Linked DNA regions of Homo sapiens: region 2 is linked to region 1. Evidence: promoter capture Hi-C in human tissues and cell types (Jung and others, 2019). All regions are on one chromosome and are shown on one strand. Each heading gives the region's core, a stretch centred on a gene start or on the middle of the fragment in contact. The rest is flanking DNA. Distances are from core to core; before and after follow the strand shown. Region 1 holds the start of SH3D19 (SH3 domain containing 19). Region 2 overlaps SH3D19 (SH3 domain containing 19).

Region 1 (5,249 bases), core at 1,922-4,421:
AAAAAAAAAAAAAAAAAAAAAACCTTTCCTGAATTGACCTCAGTACTTGATTGCCTATAATTCTGCCAAAAAAAAAAAAAAAATTCAACTGAGCTTTTTATTTATTTTAGAATCATGCTGAAGATATTTTATTACTTTAAAAGCTGGGAAACATAAATACATTTTATAAAGAAGTTGGGCACCAGATCAACTATCATCCTTTGTTGTAAAATAAAACTGTGATTAATCAAACCCAATTTTCTTAACATCATTTTAAAAACACACACACATTTATTTCCTAAGGATGCCCTACAAGGACTGTCCTGTGCTCAGAACCTGCCTGGGGCTCTTGGCCTTTGAATGAAAAGAACTCATTCCAGACATTTCATAATCTCAAGTCATTACTTGCTTTCTGCTGGGTTGATAAAATACAGGACAATTCCACTTAAATGATCTTAAAAAGGTAAAACTAAACAATATTTTATAGAGATGCATATGTGTATGGTAAAACTGTACAGAATGAAAAGGAAATAATAACCACAAAGGTTAAAAAAATGGTTACATCTAGGGGAGAGAGGAGGCTAAGTCTAGGAGGGATGGGAATCCATTTCTAAGGAACTGACTATATCCTATTTCTTGACTTGAGCATGAGTTACAAGAGTTTTTACTTTATAATTTACAAATTTCATATGTTCTTCTGTATGTAAGTTACAAAAATAAATAAATGCACTTACACAACCACTCCAAAATTTATCAGGGAGAGAAGGAAGAGTTCACAGACTACCTTAAGTCCATAAACCCCAGGTTTATGGTTATCAAGCTAGGTGAAATCAGAGAAAAGGAAACTCTTTAGATTGTAAAATGATAAGGGAAGGAGGGAGCACTGAGAACAGGAAAAGTGAAAAACTGAAAAGGTGATGCAGAAAAAACATGAAGCTTCTGCGTCAGTTCATACCCTCTCACTTGGAGGAGAGCAACATCTAGCACAGACATAACTAACAAATGCCCAAGCTTGGTAAGGAATGTGTTAGTGTCTGAAAAACATGTTAACTAATAAGGGGAAAGTGGAGCTCAGCTTGTAAAGAAATGTAAACTATTAAATAATTTCTTCTAAAAGAAATAAATCCAAAAATCGCAAGTTTAACCCTCTTACTCATTCCATTACATCGTCCTCACACCCTTTAATGGAAAAAGGGCATATAAATGGTTAGAAAACTACAAACACCAATTACTGAATGCAAAAAGTACACAATGTCATGTCTCAGCAAAATATTATCAAAGAACCTAGAAAAGCCTTTGTCAACCTTGAGAAATTAGGGAACTGGTGAAAACTAATTACAAAATGTCATTTCCACCAGCTTTGGAATAAATACACATATTGCAACTAAATGATAAACACACATCTGGATCACATCTAGTCTGAACTCCAAAACAGGTCTTCACTGTACAGTCTCTTGTGAGAATGAAGCTTTCTGCTGAAGGTAACAGGAATCTAAGGTGGCCTACCCTGTTTAAATCCATAGGTCAGGCATGGCGGTATATCTTTGTAAAGTTTTTTCATTGTACTCTTGCAAGAAATATTCACTTATATCCAGCAACTATTCATTATTTCACAAGGTTTGGGTTTACACTGAACAAAATTACCAATTATGTTCAAAACTGGTGTTCATATAGACAGCCAAATGCCTTATTTTGATGAAAAGTTGTAATAATGAGCATGGAGAATTATTTTTATGTTCCAAGATTCTACCAAAGGCATTAAATTGACTATTTCTTCAAGATGTTCTTCTCAAGTTTTCCTTTCATCCTACTTTCTACCCTCCATTTGTTCCGCACAGATACAATATCTTCTCTATTTTTCCAACTTTCTCTTAGTGGTTAAGGGAGTCACACAGAAAAGCTTCTCCACTTCATGGAATATTCGCTATATTCCACTTTATAATGAGGCTCTCAGTGAATCGTTCTCCTCCGACTCTCTCACTTCCCTATCTCCCTTTTGTTGCCAGTCCCCCTAGGTTTGTTCTTCCCTCTTGTTTTCAGATAACTCGGATTACCCAGTTGGAACCAAAGGCCAAAGAATGTCCTCTCTATTATGTTTGATTGAAAAGCCGCCCGGAAGAGGGAAGGGGTGTGGATCTACACTTATTCACTCTTTCACTAATGTGCCAAACTATTTGATCCGTGCCGCTTTTGTGTACCCAAAACACAGTATCATAAAAGTAATTACAGGCCCGAAAATGATTCTCAGCCCAAATGAATGGCCTTTTGGAATGCTATATTCTGGACTTCTCTTTGCGTGGGGGAGGGTCTCACAACTAACGAAAACAAGTCCTACAGAAAACTGGTGAGCTCGGCGGCTGGGGGAGGGAGGGAGGGGGGTCACAGGTCCGAAGTGCAAGGGACGCCGAAACAGGACTTGCCTCAGTTATGAGCACGTGCTCTGACCTGGCTGCGGCGGCGCAGGCAAACCCCTCGGAAGGTGTCGTTGTCCACCGAGACGGCCATTGACCTCTGACTCATCCAGAGATAAGTCATCAACCAGGCCACAAGTCCCAAGCCAGCAGCTCCTGGATTTAGTGTGCACGGAAAATTTGAGTTTCAGCTGTACGACCACTAGCAGTTAAAGACGGGTCTGAATTTCCTCGGGCTCGGCCGGAAAGTGAGGATGGCGATGGAAATGCCACCCTCCCCGAGTCTGGCCTCTGAGAGTTAAAGAAGCCGGTCCCATCCCGGCGCGTGAAGGAGCTGCCGCTGTGTGGGGCAGGACCCGAGCGGCCCCAGAGCGCGCAGCTCTGGGTCCCCGCCGCCCCGTCCCCCGCGCCTCTCACCTGCGGCCGAGTGGCCCGAGAGCGCACGGCCCCGGGCGCGGCGCTGGCCACCAAGTTCGCGGCGCTCGCGTAGCTCTTCCTCCTCGTCCTCCCGCCGCCGGCCCTCAGCCATGGGCGAGGCGCGGGGCGCAGCCGCGGGATGGCCAGCGAGCTGCGGCCCCGGCGCCCCAGAACGCCTGCACCCGGCGCCCCACGCCACCGCCCTCGGGCCGGGGGGAAGGCGGCTCCCGGAGAGGAGGCGTCGGCGGCGGCTGTGGAAATGGCCACCTCCGCGAACTCCACCTGCAGCCGGCCGGGCAGCGGCAGGGCGCGGGCCGAGCCGATTCCCCGCCTCCTTGCGGCGTCCCGGCGGCCTCTTAATCCCTGGCCTTTCCCACTCCCACTCCCGCTCTCTTCCCCCTTCCTCTTTGCCTTCCCCGCCCCGTAGAGCTCCACCGCGGATCGGGCGGGTTCGGGGCTGGCCTCGCCTCCTCAGGGAGGGGTTATCGGCCCCTAAGGCCGCCCCACAGCCACACACGCTGGAAACACCAGCTCGACCCAAACAAACGTGTGCAAAATAAATAAACGGGATAGGAAGAGGGGAAAGAGGAGGTGGCCTGGCCTCTTCCTGCCTTTTCACGATATTCCAGTGTCAACAGGAAACCCATTTGTTTGACACTTAAACAAAAAGAGGAGGAACCCGACCGGGGCCGAACTGGGAGAGATGGGACAGCTGGGAGCTGCTGAACTTTGGAACAAACTTGGCTTGGAGTTGGGTCGAGCCTCTGCAATGCACACTTTTTTCTTTCCCTCTCTTTTCGCCCTTAAAAACCTAGACTTGCGGGAGCACAGAGGATTTTTAGGGCAGTGAAACTACTATGCGTATGATTCTGTAATAGCGGATGCCTTTGTCCAAGCCCAAAGAATGTACAAAACCAAGAGTGAACCGCAATGTAAACTATAGACTTTGGGTGATTATGAGGTGTCAATGTGGGTTCATCAATTGTAGCAACTGTGGCACTCTGGTGGGGGATGTTGATAATGGGGGAGGCTATGCATGTGTGGGAGCAGGGGGTACATGGGAAATCTCTGTACCTTTAGCTCAATTTTGCTGTGAACCTAAAACTGTTCTTAAAAATAGTCTAGTAAGACTGGAAGCGGTGGCTCATGCCTGTAATCCCAGCCCTTTGGGAGGTCGAGGCGGGCAGATCACGAGGTCAGGATATCGAGACCATCCTGGCTAACACGGTGAAACCCCGTCTTTACTAAAAATACAAAAAAAAAAAAAAATAGCCAGGCGTGGTGGCGGGCGCCTGTAGTCCCAGCTACTCGGGAGGCTGAGGCAAGAGACTGGCCTGAACCCAGGAGGCAGAGCTTGCAGTGAACGGAGATCGCACCACTGCACTCCAGCCTGGGCAACAGAGCGAGAGTCCTTCTCGAAAAAAAAAAAAAGTCTAATAAAAATGTTTAATAATAAATCAAGCCTCACTGTATTCCAGTTCATTTAGGGCTAGGATATGGCTACAATTCCTAGAAGAACAGGAAGAAATGTGTTAAAGAGACCCATACGTGATTATTTGTAGAGAGGCAACTAGGGGAAGTGGAGAGACCACTGGCTCTGGAGTCAGAAACTGTAATTTGAAGCACTTAGCTGTGTGAGCTACCCCTAAGAAAGTTTTTCAAAGCTGGAAAGAACCGTGTAACCAAAGTTGTGTGTACCTGCACAATACACATCTTAGGTTCAGTAGGTGCACGTACTTACTTTCACACAGAGAGGAAAAGATTCTGGAATTTCACCAAAAGATACCCAAGTAGCAGGCAGAAATATTACCTGGACATGAAACCTTAGGAAATTCCTGAGTGCGATGAACAGGCCTTTATCTTTGGCGTCTTGCTCTATTTCTGAGAGATTACCAAGAGCTCCTAATGTTCAGCAAGTAGGAGAGAAAAAGAAAGGGAGAAAAGGGTCACTGAAAATAGAATTGCCTGCCACACCTGAGTGCTGTTTCTTTGCCTTTTCAATAGTGGCTGTTGCCGCCTGAGAAAATCTTTCCGCTTTTAAGCAGATAAGAACCACAATCGATTCTGTGGAATTGAGGTCAAATCCACAAGTTAAAACTTTATTACTGCATAAGCGATTAAATAAGTAGACACTTAGAGAACTGGAAATTAAGCCAACAACAATAAAACAAAGGTTCTGGACCTTTAGGGTTGTTTTAAATGTTTGGTAAGTGAAACCTTATTTGTCACTTCCCTTCAAGGATGAATAATTTAAAAATCCCTACCTTGACCAACAGTACCATTTCATTAAGCCATTGGAGTCAGTTTCTACTGTCATTGAGTCTTAATTTTTTTTTTTTTTTTTTTTTTTTGAGACTAGAGTCACTCTATTGCCGAGGCTGGAGTGCAGTGGCACGATATCGGCTCACTGCAACCTACGCCTGCCGGGTTCAAGGGATTCTC
Region 2 (5,249 bases), core at 2,057-4,556, 140 kb before region 1:
AAAAAAGCACTGTCATTCTCAAAATTATGCATTACACACATACTCATGCTACATTGTGAAACAGTAGAACCTGATCATTGATAAAATTTGAACTGTACTTCCTAAGAACCTTTGCTTATAGCTTTTGTCTAACTAAATAGTAAGAGTTATTAGTTAATAAACGTTAAGCATCATATGTATATTAATTCTTATGACAACCTTGTGATGTAGGTATGATTAGCACCATTTTAAAGCTGGGATAAAGAAGCTAGAGAGATTAAGCAGCTTGTCATCCAAGGTCACATGGTAGGAAAGTGGCGGTCAGGATTTGAATTTGGTTCTGACTCTGAAGTCCTTCATTATTCTATACTATACTGTAAGCAATTTGACAGCAGGGACCATGACTTATGAAAACCTCTCTATCTGATTGAATGTCATGATGTAATGTAAAAAAAAAATCTATCCATCCATTTAGCCATTTGTCCATCCATCCTTCTGTCCATTCTATTGTCCATCTGTCCACTGGTCCTTCCTTCTATCTACCCAAATATTATCTTTCCTCCCTTCTCTTTTCCCTTCCTTTTTCCAAAAAGCCATCCAGGCTTTATTCATTGTGCCTACCTCCTCTTTTCCTTTCTTTATCCTTCCATTCAATTTTCTATCCTGTCATCCATCCATTTGGTTAGGCAACATGTACTAAGTAGCATGAGGTACAAAGCATTTCTCTGAAGCAGTTACAATGCTTTACATGTAACAGCTGTTTAATAAACATTTAAAAAATCAACTTCAATAAATAACTATACTCAAAAGAACATTTTCAAGCCTGTATCACTCCTTCTCTCAAGCAAAATCATCTTTCAAACTTATAAGTTAATTCAGGAGATATATTGATGAAGCAGAATACAAGAATACATTGCTTATGAAAGTGAAACATTTAATTTGCTACCTGATAACACACTTTTACTCAATTATTAGTCTAATATATGTCCTCCATTATAAATATAACCATACCTTCTATCTCGATGAAGTTCACTCTGAATAGAAGTCCGAGAAGCTGTTGAAGAAGGAATAAACTGGTATAGTACAAAATTAGTATGTTTGGTAAGGGTTTAAATTTTTACAAAGTACACAATTGGAAAAAGCTTATACTTGACATCATATAGAATGTATGAATTTTAATATCCTTAAAAAAAAGTAAATCAAAACAATCATTTTATTAGCATAAAGTTAATTATGGTTATATATTAGAGATTGCATAATACATAGATTTCAAAAACTCCCCAAAGAACATTCTGTAGTTGTGAAAATAGTTTGAAGAATGAACAGAGAAAAGAAGACAGCTATTAAATATAAATTGCATGGCTGGAGTATTAAGATGATGACATGAAGTAACAATGGGCAGAAAAAATTTTAAATATCGATTCCAATCTATATGACTATGCTTTTGTGATGTTTGTTTATAAATCTATTGTAGAATGAAACTGGTCAAATTTTCATCTTTTGTCTAACTTATCTGACATTTTATAACCTTTAAGTTGTTTTATTATTTATTTTGAGACAGGGTCTCACCCTGTTGCTCAGGCTGGAGAGCAGTGACATGATGTTCAGGGCTCAATGCAGCCTCAAGTTCCCAGGCTCAAGTGATCCTCCTGCCTCAGCCTCCCAAGTAGCTGGGACTACAGGCACATGACACCATGCCTTGGTAATTTTTTGTATGTTTCGCAGAGATGAGGTTTCGCCATGTTGCTGGTCTCAAGCTCCTGGGTTCAAGCGATCCTCCTGCCTGGGCTTCCCAAAGTGCTGGGATTACAGGCATGAGCCACTATGCCCAGCCTTTTATTACTTAAACTAAGATATAATAATTAATGTAAAAGGTGTTCAAATCACTTTTATAAACTTGTTTATAGCACATATTATTGTATATGCAGCACTGACTTTTTCCTTAAGTCTCAAACTCAAGTCCTTAAGCTTGATAGTTTAAATTTTTTCCCAAATTTTATTTTATAAAGTAAACTAAGTTTTAATCGGATAATCTAGAACATATCACATATGGGGTCATTTTTTTTTCTTTTTTTTTTTTTTTGAGACAGTCTCGCTCTGTCGCCCAGGCTGGAGTGCAGTGGCGCGATCTTGGCTCACTGCAAGCTCTGCCTCCTGGGTTCACACCATTCTCTTGCCTCATCTTCCAGAGTAGCTGGGACTACAGGCGCCCGCGACCATGCCTGGCTAATTTTTTATATTTTTAGTAGATACGGGGTTTCACCGTGTTAGCCAGGATGGTCTCGATCTCCCGACCTTGTGATCCACCCGCCTTGGCCTCCCAAAGTGCTGGCTTTACAGGTGTGAGCCACTGCGCCCGACACATATGGGGTCAATTTTTCAATTTTTATGTAATAGAGACTATTACCTCTATTTTTCTTTATTTCTTTTTTTTTTCTGAGATGGGGTCTCGCTCTGTCGCCCAGGCTGGAGTGCAGTGGCGCCATCTCGGCTCACTGCAAGCTCCGCCTCCCGGGTTCATGCCATTCTCCTGCCTCAGCCTCCCGAGTAGCTGGGAGTACAGGTGCCTGCCACCATGCCCGGCTATTTTTTTTTTTTTTTTTGTATTTTTAGTAGAGATGGGGTTTCACCGTGTTAGCCAGGATGGTCTTGATCTCCTGACCTCGTGATCCTCCCACCTCGGCCTCCCAAAGTGCTGGGATTACAGGCATGAGCCACCACGCCCGGCCTACCTCTATTTTTCATGGAACATATTCTAAAGATCTCTTTGGGGAAAAAAATCTTCTAATACTATAGTGTAAAGATCTGTGCACAAAGGAAATTTGTTTCAGATATAAACTATTTTAACCAGTTGCTTTCATATCTCAGTAATACTCAACTTGTTCAATTCTTCCTATTTGAAAAGATTGGAAGCATAGATCTTTCCCCCCTATTAACTTCTGCTTCTCTCTGAACAAGGAGGCTGTCAAAACTAGGGGAGGCAGGGGTGGAAGTGGAAGGTGGGAATGAAGTTTAGGCTGGATTGGAGCCGTAACAGGTGAACCTCTGCTGGGTTGGCAAAGCAAACCTCTAAGATCTGAAACCAAACCCCTGGGTTTCTACTTGGAGGATGTCCTCATATTCATATCATCAACTGGTTTGACTGACTATTAACATTTTTATCAAGAGCTAAACCAAGCTGACAGGGAGGCTAGAGCTCTGCATGGTGTGTCTGATTTGTAAGAATGGTTTCATTAAGTCAGAGGCCCATTCAAGTTTGCTACAATCACATCACCACCATCACTAATGCTGAAATCAGCAGGGATAACACTTTTAAAAGACTTCATGTTATCATCACAAACATACCTCTTCCACGGGGCATTTTTGCTGTGTACTATTCATGAGTGCTAAGGGAAAAAAAGAAGGGGTTATAGAAGAGGAAAGGAAGAGAAAAGAGTGAACCTAGTTGCCTAAGCTTTAAAAGGAATTCAGGAGCATGACTGTCTTGCCATACCACTGTTTTTCCCTGCTATGCACACTTAAATGGAAAAGCAAAGTTGATGATCCACAGATTCAGAGAGTAAAGAAATACTGCCGCAAAGATTTGTCTGTGCAGACCAGGATATCCACACACATAACCAGTTGAAAAACCCGCTTGTAGGGTTTTTTTTTTTTTATTTTTTTGAGACAAGGTCTTGCTCTGTCACCCAGGCTGGAGTGCGGTGGCACAATATTGGCTCACTGCAGCCTCGACTTCCCTGGCTCAAGCGATCTTCCTGCCTCAGCCCCCTGAGTAGCTGGGACTACAGGCATGCACGACCACACCTGGCTCCTTTTCGTATCTTTTGTAGAAACGGGGTTTTGCTATGCTGCCCAGACTGGTCTCGACTTCCTGACCTCAAGTGATCCGCCCACCTTGGCCTCCTAAAGTGCTAGGATTACAGGCATGAGCCACTATGCCTGGCCTGTCTGCAGTTTTTAACAACGGTTTTAAAAAATCTAAAAACTATTTTGCAAAATCAATTTGCTACTTCAATAAGCATTGATTTTAAAGTATGAATAGTACTTAAAAGGTAATTCAGTAGTCGATCTACATTGTTTAAAATCAGCAATTTTAACTTGATTCTGCCCGTTCACACCAGAGGTCATTCACAGCAGGCCCCCAGGCAGCAGAGTGGCACTGCCGCTGAAGAACATGGAGGGGTCTTGCAGTCGTACGTACAGATGTCCTTCTGCACAACCTTCAAGAATCACTGCTTTCCCCTCTCCTTGTCTGGCTTTTTTCACATTCACTTATCTATGAAATCTTTCTTTTCTCTCTTGATCCTTCTGGAAAAACTGACACCTTCTGTCAGTGCTGAACAAGATTAATAGCTACAAACACTTTTGGTTTTCACTGCAGATTTTCATGTGTTGTCTCATGCTCTTTGTGCTAATTTCTCAACTATCTGCTTATACATTTCATTCTCACTTTCCCAGATTAAACAAATTTGCTGTAGTTGCCAGGAAAATCGAATTTGCCAGATTGCCATATAGACAAGCATGTCCCATTTTACCTCTCTGCCACAAGCTGCTAGTCTGGTACGTTTTGGGTTAATGCCACAGAATAAAGGCAGTATTTTCAGTTAGAGTTATCCTATCATTTTACAGAATTATTTTCAAACTTTTTCTTTTTTTTTTTCTTTTTGAGCTGGGGTCTCTCTCTGTCGCCCAGGCTGGAGTGCAGTGGCACGACCTTGGCTCACTGGAACCTCTGCCTTCCAGGTTCAAGCGATTCTCCTGCCTCATCCTTCCTAGTAGCTGGGATTACAGGTGCCCACCACTGCGCCGGGTTAATTTTTGTATTTTTAGTAGAGATGGGGTTTCACCATGTTGGTCAGGCTGGTGTCGAATTCCTGACCTCAGGTGATCCGCCCGCCTCAGCCTCCCAAAGTGCTGGGATTATAGGTGTGAGCCACAGTGCCTGGCCTATTTTCAAACTTTTCGAGTTCAAGTGGTTAAATTCTAAATACAAAACATATTCATGTTAAAGTTGAGATGTAGATGTGCAGTATTACCACCAATAAAGAATCTTCTCGAATTCCAGCAGGATCACAAGCCTGGAAAGACCCTCAGCGATCGTCCTACTCAAACTTCACAGAGGAGAAGACTGAGATACAGAGGGGTTAAATGAATTACCCCAGGTCCAACAGCCCTTTAGGAGCAAGGCTAGGAGCAGTTTGTTTCTTGAAGCAGTTTAACTCTGTGTGGAGCCAGGAGAGTGGGATGCTAGCTAGTCTTGATCTAAATAA

Evidence for each region. The method cuts DNA at HindIII sites, captures the fragments that hold promoters and counts their contacts. A contact is called where the count stands out against the background at its distance.
Region 2: a contact is called between a fragment that was not itself captured here and the fragment with the promoter of SH3D19 in region 1, in 2 of the 25 tissues and cell types used here (bladder and mesenchymal stem cells).

The regions. Positions count from the first base shown.
Region 1 is chr4:151,322,434-151,327,682 of GRCh38, forward strand. SH3D19 (SH3 domain containing 19) reads right to left here and starts at 3,172. Exons shown (of 20, transcript NM_001378122.1): 1 at 2,808-3,172. The coding sequence starts at 2,919. The HindIII fragment of the contact is 31,894 bases long and covers 1,664-5,249 here.
Region 2 is chr4:151,178,365-151,183,613 of GRCh38, forward strand. It overlaps SH3D19 (SH3 domain containing 19), which reads right to left. Exons shown (of 20, transcript NM_001378122.1): 4 at 991-1,033. Among named protein-coding and RNA genes, the nearest start is that of SH3D19-AS1, 57 kb to the left of the region's middle. The HindIII fragment of the contact is 3,545 bases long and covers 1,535-5,079 here.